Regions from separate parts of the Homo sapiens genome. Here region 2 is linked to region 1. The links are contacts of gene promoters, found by promoter capture Hi-C in blood cells and fetal thymus (Javierre and others, 2016). All regions are on one chromosome and are shown on one strand. The core of a region is centred on a gene start or on the middle of the fragment in contact, and the rest is flanking DNA. Distances in the headings are between cores, read along the strand shown.

Region 1 (7,103 bases), core at 2,822-5,321:
ATCTCCTCCAAATCTAGTCACCTTGATGACACTTCTCAGACTGGCATTCAGGGGTCTTACTCTATTACCCCATTTTACAGATGAGAAAGCCAAAGAAAAGCTGGTAAACGGTGGAGTTACGACCGCTACATGATACCATTCACAATCTGGCCCTGTGTGCCTTTCATGACTAGCCATGTCAGACCTTCACCGCACATACCCCTTGGCTCTAGCCAGGTTCCTAAATGGCCCCTTTTCCTCATCATTGCTGTTACTACCTTAGAGCAGGCCCTACCTGGCCTGGGCTCCCTGTAGCAGCCAATAATTCTTCTAAACAGAAAATCCAATCATGTCCCTCCTCTGATTTTTTTTTTTTTTTGAGATGGAATCTTGCTCTGTTGCCCAGGCTGGAGTGCAGCGGTGCAATCTCAGCTCACTGCAACCTCCGCCTCCCAGATTCAAGCGATTCTCCTGCCTCAGCCTCCCAAGTAGCTGGGATTGCAAGCAGGTGCCACCACACCCGGCTAATTTTTGTATTTTTAGTAGAGATGGGGTTTCACCATGTTGGCAAGGCTGGTCTCGAACTCCTGACCTCAAGTGATCCGCCCGCCTCAGCCTCCCAAAGTGCTGGGATTACAGGCATGAGCCACCACGCCTGGCCTGTTTTTGTTTTTTGAGACAGGGTCTCTCTCTGTTGCCCAGGCTGGAGTACAGTGGTGCAGTCATGGCTCACTGCAGCCTTGAACTCCTGGGATCATTCAGCCTCCAGAGTAGCTAGGACTACAGGCATGCCACCATGCCCAGCTAATTAAACTTTTTTTTTTTTTTTTTTTTTTTTTTTGTAGAGATGAGGTCTCCCTATGTTGCCCAGGGAGGAATCGAACTCCTGGGCTCAAGTGATCCTCCCACCTTGGCTTTCCAAAGTGCTAGGATTACAGGTGTGAGCCACCACGCCTGGCTCTTCCCATGATTTAAGGCTTCTTATGGTGCCACAGAACCTAACACAGTACGTCCTGCCCTAGCTTGCAAGGCCCCTCTGTCCCCCAACTGCCTTTCCAGTCTCATTTCCTCTGAGTCTTTGTTTTTGCTGTTTCCTCCTCCTGGAATGCCCTTCCTCCTCCTCCATGTGCCAAACCCCTGCAAAGCCTTCAAGGCCCAAGTCAAAAATCATCTCCTCTGGGAAGCCTTCCCCACTGCCTTGAGTCGTTTGTCTTCAATCCTCTGTGCCCCCACATTCACTTCCCTGATCAACCCCAGTTCTCATGGTTCAGCCCAGGCCTTTGATAAAAATGAGTTGAGCCAGGCGTGGTGGCTCACGCCTGTAATCCCAACACTTTGGGAGGCCGAGGCGGGCGGATCATGAGGTCAGGAGTTCGAGACCAGCCTGACCAATATGGTGAAACCCCACCTCTACTAAAAATACAAAAATTAGCTGGGCATGGTAGTGCGCACCTATAATCCCAGCTACTCAGGAGACTGAGGCAGGAGAATGGCATGAACCCGGTAGGTGGAGGTGCGGTGAACCAAGATTGCGCCACTGCACTCCAGCCTGGGCGACATAGTGAGACTCCGTCTCAAAAAAAAAAAAAAAAGTTGAAAAATCTCAAGAAGGATGACCTTGCCCAAGGTCCTGAGCTTTGGGGAGAAGAATAAATGTAACAGCAACTATTTCCGTGTTTATTTTGTGCCAGACACAGTTCTAACTCTGTGCATGTGTTGACTCATTCATTCCTCACAACTCCAAGATGTAGGTGCTGTTATAATTTCCCTTTTACAAATGAGGAAACTGAGGCGTGGAGCGGTTAGGAAACTTGGCCAAGGTCACACAGCGGGTAAATGATGGAGCTGGAAGTCCACCCTAAGCTCTGGAGCCTGTGTTTGTAACTTAGAGGCCAAAGGTGGAGATCAGGCAATCGCAGGGCCAGAAGAGGCAGGCAGAGCTGGATAATGGGCGAAGGGGGCCCGCAACAAACACAACCAGATAGTTATTAGACTATCCAGAGGCCTAAGGAGCTAGTCCCCTCCCCCAGCACCCAGCAGGCCCACTAGGGGGCAGCAGAGCATTCTTTCCCTGGGAACTGGCTCCTGGGCAGGAAGAATCAGAGTCCCGGCCCCTGCAAGCTGGGTCCCTGGGGCCAAAGCCCTCTGCTGGTACTCAGGGCTGCTCAGGCTGGGGGCAGACAGAATCCTCTGGGGTTCTGAGAAGCGGAAACGTATCTGGTGGCAGTTAGGGTCTCCAGGGGGTGAAATTTAACTCATATTCTGATCTCAAAACCTTCAAATACCCTCAGAATAAAAGCCAGACTCCCTGTGTGGCCTGCCAACCACCCCCACTCATCCACACTACAGCATGACCGAACCACCCACCCTCACTGCTGCAGTGCACTACTCACTCGTCTGAGCCTCTATAAGGGCCATTTCTGGCTGGATACGGTGGCTCACACCTATAATCCCAGCACTTTGGGAGGCTGAGGTGGGAGGATCACCTGAACTCAGGAGTTTGAGACCAGTCTGGCCAACATGGCAAAACCCCAACTCTACTGAAAATACAAAAAATTAGCCGGGCGTGGTGGTGCATGCCTGTAATCCCAGCTTCTTGGGAGGCTGAGGTAGGAGAACCACTTGAACCCGGGAGGTGGAGGCTGCAGTGAGCCGAGATCACGCCACTGCACTCCAGCCTGGGCAACAGAGCGAAACTCTGTCTCAAAACAAAACAAAAAAAAATTAGCCAGGTGTAGTGGTGCATGCCTGTAGTCCCAGCTACTTGGGAGGCTGAGGTGGGAGGATCACCTGAGCCCAGGGAAGTCAAGGCTGCAGTGAGCTGTACTGCACTACAGCTTGGGTGACTGAATGAGACCCTGTCTCAAACAATAACAACAGTAATAATAAAAGAGCCATTTCCTCTGACTGGGTCCATCACCCCACTTCTGACCCCAGACTCCTACTAGTCTCACATAAGCCATCCTTTTACTTTGAGACCTGTGGCCAGTTACCAAACTGCCCTGGGCCTCAGTCTCCTCATCTGTAAAATGGAATAAATGCTACCGACATCATAGAATCGAGGTGCTTAGAACAGTGCCTGGCACATAGAAAATGCTAGGCAAGGGTTAGCTATTGTTACTGTTGCTGTTGAACTAACCTGACCTTTCCCCAACCTCTAAATCTGAGTTAAGTTCCCACTTCTAGGCTTCATCATCCCCCTGTACCTGCAGCCATCACACGGGATTCTAACTGTGTGGTTACCCTTCAGTCTAACATCAAGCTCCATGGGGGATCCAAGGACGGAGTTTAATCTCCTGCACCCAGCAGGAAGCCTGGGACAGTAGGCGTGACTTTTGTATGATGGAAGCCCAGGCAGTAGGGCAGAAGGATGGGCCAATCCTGAGGTTTTAGATCCGAGATTCTGGGAAAAGTAGGGGCAAGATCCCTGGCTTCTATCTGAGGGAGGCTGGGCCTGGACCAGGTTTGGGGACAGTGTGCCCCAGGGTGTGTGTGACACATACCTCCTTGTTGTCCATGGGGATCTTGAGTTTCACCACCTCATACTTCTCCTCACCCTCATCCTCCTCACCCTTCACCAGCAGCACCATCTCCTCCTGCATCTCTTCCTCCTCCTCTTCCTCTGCCTGCTGTTCGCCAGGCATCTTGGTGTCCTGAGGCGGGGAGCTGGATCAGAAGCTCAGGACCCGCCCCCCCCCACCCCCCCCCCCGCCCACCGTGGCCCTGGCCCAGCAAGGCAGTGCAGCCGTGGCTTCTCCCGCCCTGCCCTGGTCTCCGAATCTGGTCCTCTCCCGTCCACCCCAGCCCGGCCCCACGCTCTGGCACAGCCCCGGGACCAGCTCCGAGGGCTCGCGTTCACCCCACTCATCCCAGCATTCAAGGCCTTGAACAGTTCGAATCTCCAGCCCCCGCAAGTCGCCACCATCCTTGCGCTGAGTCACTCCCCAGGGCCCGGGTCGGCGACCTGGAGCTCTGGGGCACGGGCTGGAGGCGGGATCGGGGCGGAAACCCCGGGGAGGGGGTGCGCACTCACCAGCCGAAGGTTCGGCACTCGCGGTGCCCCAGGCCTGGGCGCCGGGCGGCTGGGCACTCAGCGAGGCCGCGGCTCCGGGGGCGGGGAGGGGGCGGGACCGCAGGGACGGCCGGTCATTGGTCCGAACATATAGCCCCACCCCCTGGGGCGGAGCCCGAAGGACCCAGGCGTCCGGCCCAAACGGCTCGGAGAGGGCGGCGAGCTCAGACTTGGCGTCCTCCGCAGTCCCCCGACTCCCAAGCACCTGGAGCCGCCCCAGCCCGGCGTTCAAGGTCCTTGCCGCCGAGTTCCAACCTAACCTCGCGGCCCGTCTCCTGGGGCCGGCTTGGAGGTCTCCGCTGCGCCCAGTGCCTCTGCTCCGCCCGAAATAGGCCACGTGCGCTCCCGCCCCGGCCTGGGCCTCTCCCTGGCGCCCCGCCTGGAGGGCGGACCCTGTTGCCTCCTCACTTCTTCCATTCCCTCTTTATCTCCTCTGCCGTCTTTTCTCCATCTTTCTCGGCTTCGCCTATTCCGCTGGCCTCTGGGATATCCTTGAATACATCCTAACCAATTCAACATCCACCCAAGCTACCGCTGTCGCGTCATGCGTGGGGTGCTTACCATGCGCCAGCGCTGTTCAGCGTCTTACATACCTGGTCTCATTTGATCCGCATAACGATGGGTCCTGATCCATTTTACAGATGAGCTCACTGAAGTTCAGGGAGGTAAACTGATTTGCCTAAGTTACACGATAAGGATGTCATAGCATCCCTGACAATCAGTAGCCTAGGTGAACAACAGCCCAAAGCTAAATCCAGTCCACAGGGGTACCTTGTTTGGCCCTTAGGGTATTTTTACTTTTAAAAAATCTTTTCGGACGGGCACGGCGGCTCACGCCTGTAATCCCAGCACTTTAGGAGGCCGAGGCGGGCGGATCACGAGGTCAGGAGATAGAGACCATCCTGGCTAACACGGTGAAACCCCGACTCTACTAAACAAAATACAAAAAATTAGCTGGGCGTGGTGGCGGGCACCTGTAGTGCCAGCTACTCGGGAGGCTGAGACAGGAGAATGGCGTGAACCCGGGAGGCGAGCTTGCAGTTAGCCGAGATCGCGCCACTGCGCTCCAGCCTGGGCGACAGAGCGAGACTCCGTCTCAAAAAAAAAAAAAAAAAAAAAAAAAAAAAATCGTTTCAAAGCCGGGCGCGGTGGCTCATGCCTGTAATCCCAGCACTTTGGGAGGCGGAGGCCGGTGGATCACTTGAGGTCAGGATTTCGAGACCAGCCTAACCAACATGGTGAAACCCCGTCTCTACTAAAAATACAAAAATTAGCCAAGCTTGGTGGTGCATGCCTGTAATCCCAGCTACTCGAGAGGCTGAGGCACGAGAATTGCTTGAACTGGGGAGGCAGTGGTTGCAGTGAGCCGAGATCATGCCATTGGTCTCCAGCCTAGGCAACAAGAGCGAAACTCCGTCTCAAGAAAAAAAAAATTAAATTGGGATATTTCATATAAAAATAGATTTTTTTTTAGTGGAATAAACAAATGCCACTTCCTTTGAAAAACAGCCACTTCCCTTGAAAAAGCAGATATCTAATTTTCCCATTTTATGAATGGGGCAACTAAGATTCAGAAATCATGAAGGAAAACAGAAATAACATTCAGTAAGTGCTTACAAGTTCTATGTTGTCTCTTTACAACAGCCCTGTTGGGATCAATAATATCTCCATTGGACAAAAGAAGAAACGGAAGCTTAGACAAGTTAAGTAATTTGCTCAAAGTCACACAGCTGGCAAGCAGCAGATTCAAAGCTTGTGCTCTTCTATTGCACCAAATTACCTCTCAGGAATGAAGTTATAAAACTGGCTCTTTCCCAGAGCTGGGAGAAGGGGTCAAATGCCTGGATACTCACACACAGGATCCCCAAAAGCCACTTTGCATTCATTCTCTGAGTTTTTTTTTTTTTTTTTTTTTTTTTTTGAGATGGAGTCTTGCTCTGTCGCCCAGGTTGGAGTGCAATAGCACAGTCTAGGCTCACTGCAACCTCCGCTTCCCAGGTTCAAGTGATTCTCCTGCCTCAGCCTCCCAAGTAGCTAGGATTACAGGCACACACCACCACACCGGGCTATTTTTGTATTTTTTGTAGAGACGGGGTTTCACCATCTTGGCCAGGCTGGTCTCAAACCCCTGACCTCGTGATCCACCCACCTTGGCCTCCCAAAGTGCTGGAATTACAGGCTTGAGCCACCACGCCTGGCCTCTCTGGGTATTTATTGAGTCCTATATACCCGTCACCCTTCTAGGTATGGGGGATGTAGTAGTGAACAAAACAGATAAAAATAGTGGCTCTTGTGACACTACTAAGGGTGCAAACAAATGTACACATGTAAAGAGGAAGATAATATCAGATAATGATAGGTGCAACGGGGCAAATCTGACAAGATGATCCAACAGGGAGCAGCTATGGTAACAGGGGCTTCTTTAATGCAGGCAGGGAAGGTGTCTCAGGATACAATTTTTTTTTTTTTTTTGAGATGGAGTCTCATTCTATCACCCAGGCTGGAGTGCAGTGGCATGATCTCAGCTCACTGCAACCTCCACCTCCCGGGTTCAAGGGATTCTCCTGCCTCAGCCTCCCGAGTAGCTGAGATTACAGGTGCGCGCCATACACTCAGCTAATTTTTTTTTTTTTTTGAGGCGGAGTCTTGCTCCGTCTCCCAGGCTGGAGTGCAGTGGTGCGATCTCGGCTCACCGCAAGCTCTGCCTCCCAGGTTCACACCATTCTCCTGCCTCAGCCTCCCAAGTAGCTGGGACTATAGGCGCCCACCACCACGCCCAGCTAATTTTTTTTGTATTTTTAGTAGAGACAGGGTTTCACCGTGTTAGCCAGGCTGGTCTTGAACTCCTGACCTCAAGTGATCTGCCTGCCTTGGCCTCCCAAAGTGCTGGGATTACAGGAATGAGCCACCATGCCCAGCCTGGATACAATATTTTGTTTGTTTGTTTGAGACAGAGTCTCCAGCTGTCGCCCTGGCTGGTGGACAGTGGCGCAATCTTGGCTCACTGCAACCTCTGCCTCCCGGGTTCAATTCTCCTGCCTCAGCCTCCCGA
Region 2 (7,103 bases), core at 2,359-4,858, 150 kb before region 1:
GTTCACACGCTTCTCCTGCCTCAGCCTCCCAAGTAGCTGGGATTACAGGCGTGTGCCACTATGCCCGGCTAATTTTTGTATTTTTAGTAGAGACGGAGTTTCACCACGTTGGTCAGGCTGGTCTTGAGTTCCTCACCTCAAGTGATCCACCCGCCTCGGCCTCCCAAAGTGCTGGGATTACAGGCGTGAGCCACCGTGCCCAGCCGCCAGCCATCTTTTCTAAGAGCGCTTTCATTTTTCTGGACTCCGGAACCACAGAGTTGCTCGCCGTCCTCTCTAGGCCCCACCCGAAGCTACTACCGGTCGTCGAGGCGTCCGTGGAACCTCCTGCACCCTACTCCCAGGGCAAACCCCCAGCGTCCCTCCGGGAGCCGCGGAGCCACTGGCCGCGCTCATGGCTCCAAGCCAATGAACCAGGGAAGGTGGAAGGGACGGAGACTGGGAAAGTGTCTGAGGACCGAGAGCTCCGCGGAAACGGCCGACTGCCGCTTCCTGGCGCAGTGGGGGTGTCTGCGGTATAGGGATGTTCGCGTCCTGATCCGGGACGCGATGCCGCGACCTGCGGCCACCTAGACGCGCTCAGCGGCGCCCGCCCCACCCGGATCCCCGAAAAGGGAAAGAAGTGGCTCTCCTCACTTATGCGGCAGGTTGAGCTGTTTCCTGAGATTCCCGCCAGATCACCCTCCCTGAAGTTCCCTCCAGGCTCCTCCACAGGGGCTCCCCTGGACCTCCTGTAAAACATTCACAGCCTGGTATACTGATATATTCTGAGTTAAAAACAGAGAAATTGTAGTTTCAGAAGGAGCAATCCGACCTGTTTCTTCTGCATGGAGCATGCCAGAAACCTTACTCTGGGGGAGTATCCTTCTGTACCAGGGCAAGAAAACAGCCCTGAGAAGCCACAAGGGACCAGAATAAACATACGTAACAAAGTCATCTGTATCTTGTACCTGTTTGACAACCCCCTGATACATATTCTAGTTACTCACTGCCCTAGCCAAATTTTCTTTGTCCTGTCATTTCTTTTTTCTTTTATTCTTTCTTTCTTTTATTTTTTATTTTTTATTTTTGAGACCGAGTCTTGCTCTGTCGCCCAGGCTGGAGTGCAGTGGCGCAATCTCGGCTCACTACAACCTCTGCCTCCCGGGTTCAAGCTATTCTCCTGCCTCAGCCTCCCAAGTAGTTGGGACTACAGGCACGCACCACCATGCCTGGCTCATTTTTGTATTTTCAGTAGAGACGGGGTTTCACCATGTTGGCCAGGATGGTCTCGATCTCTTGACCTCGTGATCCGGCCACCTCAGCCTCCCAAAGTGCTGGGATTACAGGCATGAGCCACCGGGCCGGCCCTCTTCTTCTTTTTTTTTTAAACGAAGTCTCTCTCCCGCCCAGGCTGGAGTGTAGTGGCTCAATCTTGGCTCACTGCCACCTCTGCCTCCCAGGTTCAAGTGAGTCTCCTGCCTCAGCCTCCTGAGTAGCTGGGATTACAGGAACCCACCACCACCCCCAGCTACCTTTTTTTTTTTAATTTTTAGTAAGGACGGGGTTTCCTGACCTCAAGTGATCTGCCCACCTCGGCCTCCCAAAGTGCTGGGATTACAGGCATGAGCCACCGCGTCTGCCCACTGAAATTTTATTGTTCTTTGTCTAAAAAATATAAAAGCACCTGGCTTTGGGCACTTTTTCTGACTTCCCTCTCTTGTGAAGATCCCCATGTACATGTAAAACTAATACAATTGGTATAATTTTCTCGTTTGTCCACTGTCAATTCATTTGTTCTTATTTTACTTTAGTTTATTTTTATTTTTATTTTTTGAAGATAGGGTTTCACTAACTTGCCCAGGCTGATCTCATACTCTTGGGCTCAAGGGATCCTCCTGCCTTTGCCTCCCAGTAGTTAGCATTACAGGCGATTCTCAATCTGGGCCTACATTCAACTAAAGAGCCCACCAAGAGCTAAAAGGCAGTTGGAGGCAACTCTGACTCCCATACACAGTAAGGGAGGAGACCATCCCTCATATTGTCTTACGCCCAATTTCTGCCTCCAAAGAAAGAAGAAGTAAAAACTCAAAGGCAGAAATGGAATCCACAGGCAGACAGCCTGGCGCCACACCCTGGGCCTGGTAAAGATCGACCTCTGACCTAATCAGTTTTGTTATTTATAGATTACAGACATTGTATAGAAAAGCACTGTGAAAATCCCTGTCCTGTCCTGTCCTGTTCTAATTACCAGTGCCTGCAGCACCCAGTCACATATCCCCTGCTTGTTCAATGGATCACGACCCTCTCACGGGGACCCCCTTAGAGTTGTGAGCCCTTAAAAGGGACAGGGATTGCTCACTCGGGGAGTCGGTTTTTGAGATGTGAGTCTTGCCGATGCTCCCAGCCGAATAAAACCCTTCCTTCAACTCGGTGTCTGAGGGGTTTTGTCTGTGGCTTGTCCTGCTACAACAGGACATGTATGAAGTCACGTGGAGCACAGAATAGACCATCAGAAAGTGAGAGAGAGGTCTGGGGGAGAGTTGGTGACATTTACTAGATAAAGACCCTAGGGGAAGCAGATTGGGGCAAGAAAGGGATGAGTTGGATTTGAGTAGAGGAGCCTTGGGCCATCTGTCCAGGGGCAGGATGTGAGGGGAGGTGAGAGCCCGGCTGCAGCTACAGGGAGACTGGCAATTGGGAGGCGTCCTGAGCAGCACATGGGAGAAGCTCCTAGAAGAGAGGACCCTCTGACTTTCTCAACCTTACCCTACTCTCCCCACTGCCTCCGCCATCTAGAAACTTCCAGAATTTCAGGCCCCAACAAGCCTACGATGGAGGAGGTTCTCCTGTATCCACTCCTTTTTCTTTCTTTCTTTCTTTTTTATTTTTGAGACAGAGTTTCGCTCTGTCGCCCAGGCTGGAGTGCGGTGAGGCAATCTCGGCTCACTGCAAACTCCGCCTCGCGCGTTCAAGCGATACTCCTGCCTCAGCCTCCCCAGTAGCTGGGATTACAGGTGCACGCCACCACACCTGGCTGTTTTTTTGTGTGTTTTTAGTGGAGACGGGGTTTCACCATGTTGGTGAGGCTGGTCTCGAACTTCTGACCTCAGTTGTTCCGCTGGCCTCGGCCTCCCAAACTGCTGATTACAAGCGTGAGCCACTGCGCCACGCCCACTCCATTGGTTTTTTTACACTCAACATTGGGAAGAGACTGCTGTTGCCCTGTTTCTGAGATAACAAGGACAAAACGAGAGAGTGATGAGCTGGAGCCCGATTATAAAACGGTCCACAAACGAAAACTAATGCCTGAGTTCAGTAAGGCCGGGAGGCCAGCTCACTCCCGCGAGGCGCTCTTTTGTTCGTGCAAACCGGGGCGGAGCTCTCTGCTGCACCGCCTCGCCGGGCCGGGGCGGAGCTCTCTGCTGCACCGCCTCGCCGGGCCGGGGACTAAACATGCGCGGCTAGTTTTCAAGGCCGGCCTCTGTATTAGTCACCGCGGCCATTTTGGATGAGGGTACGGAGAGAACGCGGACTGGAGATACCGGGGGCGTTGTCTTGGGCACGACTGCGTAGGGGCAAAGGTCGAGTACCCGCGCCGCCGCCATTTTTTATGAGGGCATATTCCATTTCTGATTATACACCCGCTGCCATCGGCACCGTTAGTTTCCACGCCCTCTAGTGCGCCCTCGGGGGCCCTAGTAACCTCCCTCCTTCCCTTGGGCCCGGGCCGGGGAGGCTTTCTCGGGCGCAGGAGGTTCCGCAGGCCCAGGCCAGGCCAGGGGAGGCAGCCGATCCGTCGTCGGGGTTGACAGTTACCATGGCGCCGCCTCTGGCCCCGCTCCCTCCCCGGGACCCAAACGGGGCCGGACCCGAGTGGAGGGAGCCGGGGGCTGTGAGCTTCGCGGACGTGGCCGTGTACTTCTGCCGGGAGGAGTGGGGCTGCTTGCGGCCAGCGCAGAGGGCCCTGTACCGGGACGTGATGCGGGAGACCTACGGCCACCTGAGCGCTCTCGGTGAGAGCCCCACCTGCTCGCCTGAGCCCTGCGCCCCCACAGGCCCTGCCGCGCCTCTGGGAGCTGCGCGTGAAGTTGGGGGCCCCGGGGCCGGGCAGGTGGCCTCCCCGCAGCGTGGGGTTTGCGTTCTTCTTCCCTAGGAATCGGAGGCAACAAGCCAGCTCTCATCTCCTGGGTGGAGGAGGAGGCCGAACTGTGGGGTCCGGCTGCCCAGGATCCGGAGGTGGCGAAATGTCAGACACAAACGGACCCAGGTGGAGTATCGGGTGCTCAGTCCCATGGGGACTTCTCTGTTCCTGTCCCATCCCGGTACCCTCTGCCACCTCCAGCTACCTGCTTAGCAGTTTCCTCTCTGAACTGCCTTCTCAACTGCGACGACGAGGCTGAGCCCCTGCGTGGCTCCCAGATGCAGCCTAGAAAGGAGCTGTGATGGGGGCTCTGGCCCTGCCATACCCGCCTCTGAGTCCTCACCTCTGCGTGGTCACTACACTCTGGGGGCTTTTTTTGGTGTTTTTGTTTTAGAGACAGGGTCTCGCTTTGTTGTCTAGGCTGAGTGCAGTGGCGGCATCATAGCTCACTGTAGCCTGGAACTCCCGGGCTTAAGCAGTCCTTCCACCTGGGCCTCCAGAGTAGCTAAGACTGTACAGGTGCTCGCCACGAAGCCTGGGTAATTTTTTTTTTTAGACAGAGTTTTACTCCGTTGCCCAGGCTGGAGTGCAGTGGTGCCATCTCAGTTCACTGCAACCTCCCACTCCCAGGTTCAAGTAATTCTCCTGTATCAACCTCCCAAGTAGCTGGGATTACAGGCGCCCGCCACCAAGCCTGCTTAATTTTTTTTTTTTTTTTTGAGACAGAGTCTTCCTCTGTCGCGCAGGCTGGAGTGCAGTGGCGCCATCTCGGCTCAGTGCAAGCTCCGCCTCCCTGGTTGACGCCATTCTCCCGCCTCAGCCTCCCCAGTAGCTGGGACTACAGGCGCCCGCCACCACGCCCGGCTAATTTTGTTTTTGTGTTTTTAGTAGAGATGGGGTTTCACCATGTTAGCCAGGCTGGTCTCGAACTTCTGACTTTGTGATCTGCCCGCCTCGGCCTCCCAAAGTGCTGGGATTACAGGCGTGAGCCACCGCGCCCAGCCAATTTTTTGTATTTTTAGTAGAGACAGGGTTTCACTATGTCGCCCAGGCTGGTCTTTAACTCCTGGAGCTAAGCGATTCGCCTGCTTCGGCCTTCCAAAGTGACCCACTGCGTCTGGCCTAATTGTTTTAAATTGTTATGTAATATATATATTTTATAGAGGGGGTCTTGGCTCTCGGTGTGTTGCCCAGGCTGGTCCTGAAATCCTAGGCTGATCCTCCTTCTCTACCTCCCAAAGCGCTGGGATTACCGCCTTGAGCCCCCACGCCCAGTCTCTTAAACTCTGTTGACTCTACCTCCACCTCAGGACCCACCCCTGCCGTTCACCTGCAGGCTGGTTCCTTTCTCCCCGTCCGCCCCCCTTTTTTTCTTTCATTTCTTGCCCTCAGCCTTTGCAGAGTATCCAGCCCCACTGAACTTGGCCATGCCCTCCTGGTTCTGCCTTTCTTGGTGCTGTTCCTGCTGCCTGGAACATCCTCAGGTGTCCGTTCCTCCTTCTGGATCAGGCCCAGATGTTCATGTCATCTCTGCCCTTCCCCCACCGTGACATTTCCCCAGCCCCGAGGCGGAATGGGCTGTTCTCTCCCTCCCGGCTCTGTCTGGCTCTGCAGCCGAGGAACAGGTGTCACTCCTCCATCTCCCAGGAGCAGCCGGGGATCCAGCAGGCCTGTCCCTGTCCACGCGGGCTGTGGGATTCAAGGACCAGGATGAGCCGAGCCTGAACTCTCCCCTCTTTATCTCTCAGCAGATTCCAGAAACAAGAAAAAGGAAAGACAAAGGGAAGGGACGGGAGCCCTGGAGAAGCCCGACCCTGTGGCCGCCGGGTCTCCTGGGCTGAAGTCTCCCCAAGCCCCCTCGGCCGGGCCCCCTTATGGTTGGGAGCAGCTGTCCAAGGCACCGCACCGGGGACGCCCCTCCCTCTGTGCCCACCCCCCTGTCCCCCGAGCTGACCAGCGTCATGGCTGCTACGTGTGCGGGAAGAGCTTTGCCTGGCGCTCCACACTGGTGGAGCACGTCTACAGTCACACTGGCGAGAAGCCCTTCCACTGCACTGACTGCGGCAAGGGCTTCGGCCACGCTTCCTCCCTGAGCAAACACCGGGCCATCCATCGTGGGGAGCGGCCCCACCGCTGTCTGGAGTGTGGCCGGGCCTTCACGCAGCGCTCGGCGCTGACTTCGCACCTGCGCGTCCACACCGGCGAGAAACCCTATGGCTGCGCCGACTGTGGCCGCCGCTTCAGCCAGAGCTCTGCCCTCTACCAGCACCGGCGCGTGCACAGCGGCGAGACCCCCTTCCCCTGCCCGGACTGTGGCCGCGCCTTCGCCTACCCCTCGGACCTGCGGCGCCACGTGCGCACCCACACCGGCGAGAAGCCCTACCCGTGCCCGGACTGCGGGCGCTGCTTCCGCCAGAGCTCGGAGATGGCAGCCCACAGGCGCACCCACAGCGGCGAGAAGCCCTACCCCTGCCCGCAGTGCGGCCGCCGCTTTGGCCAGAAGTCAGCCGTGGCCAAACACCAGTGGGTTCATCGGCCCGGGGCCGGGGGCCACAGGGGCCGGGTCGCCGGGCGTCTGTCTGTGACCCTGACCCCTGGCCACGGAGACCTGGACCCGCCCGTGGGCTTCCAGCTGTACCCGGAGATATTCCAGGAGTGTGGGTGACGGCCTTAAAAGTGACTATCTAGACATTACGGGAGGCCCGAGATGGGCTCAGGGGCCCGAACCTCTGCGGCGGCCTGCAGGGAGGTCCCAGAATCTAGGGCAAGAGCTGGCCCTGGGGTGCGGACAGTCTGATCTTGGGCCCTTAGCAGCCTCCTCTGCCAGCACCTTGCTCCCCACTGCCCAGGGCTCTCCAAGGCCCCCTCTACTGAGGCAGGGCTGAGTTGAGAACCCCCAGACCTACATAAGGGGAACCAAAAGCTGTTTCTCAGCCCAGAGGTGCTAAGAGGACTGAGGTAGAGGAGAACCTTGTTTTAC

Evidence for each region. The method cuts DNA at HindIII sites, captures the fragments that hold promoters and counts their contacts. A CHiCAGO score of 5 or more calls a contact.
Region 2: the fragment with the promoter of ZNF764 here is called in contact with the fragment with the promoter of ZNF771 in region 1 in 2 of 17 cell types (megakaryocytes and fetal thymus); the score reaches 5.2 in megakaryocytes.

What each region holds. Positions count from the first base shown.
Region 1 is chr16:30,404,574-30,411,676 of GRCh38, reverse strand. ZNF771 (zinc finger protein 771) reads right to left here and starts at 4,071. Exons shown (of 3, transcript NM_001142305.2): 1 at 4,013-4,071; 2 at 3,483-3,632. The coding sequence starts at 3,623. RefSeq lists silencers at 2,012-2,101, 3,936-4,145, 4,168-4,347. The HindIII fragment of the contact is 8,204 bases long and covers 1-5,332 here.
Region 2 is chr16:30,554,879-30,561,981 of GRCh38, reverse strand. ZNF764 (zinc finger protein 764) reads left to right here and starts at 3,608. Exons shown (of 3, transcript NM_001172679.2): 1 at 3,608-3,995; 2 at 4,136-4,249; 3 at 5,875-7,103. The coding sequence starts at 3,800. The coding sequence ends at 6,788. RefSeq lists enhancers at 170-319, 340-539, 3,479-3,618, 4,159-4,720. The HindIII fragment of the contact is 20,167 bases long and covers 1-7,103 here.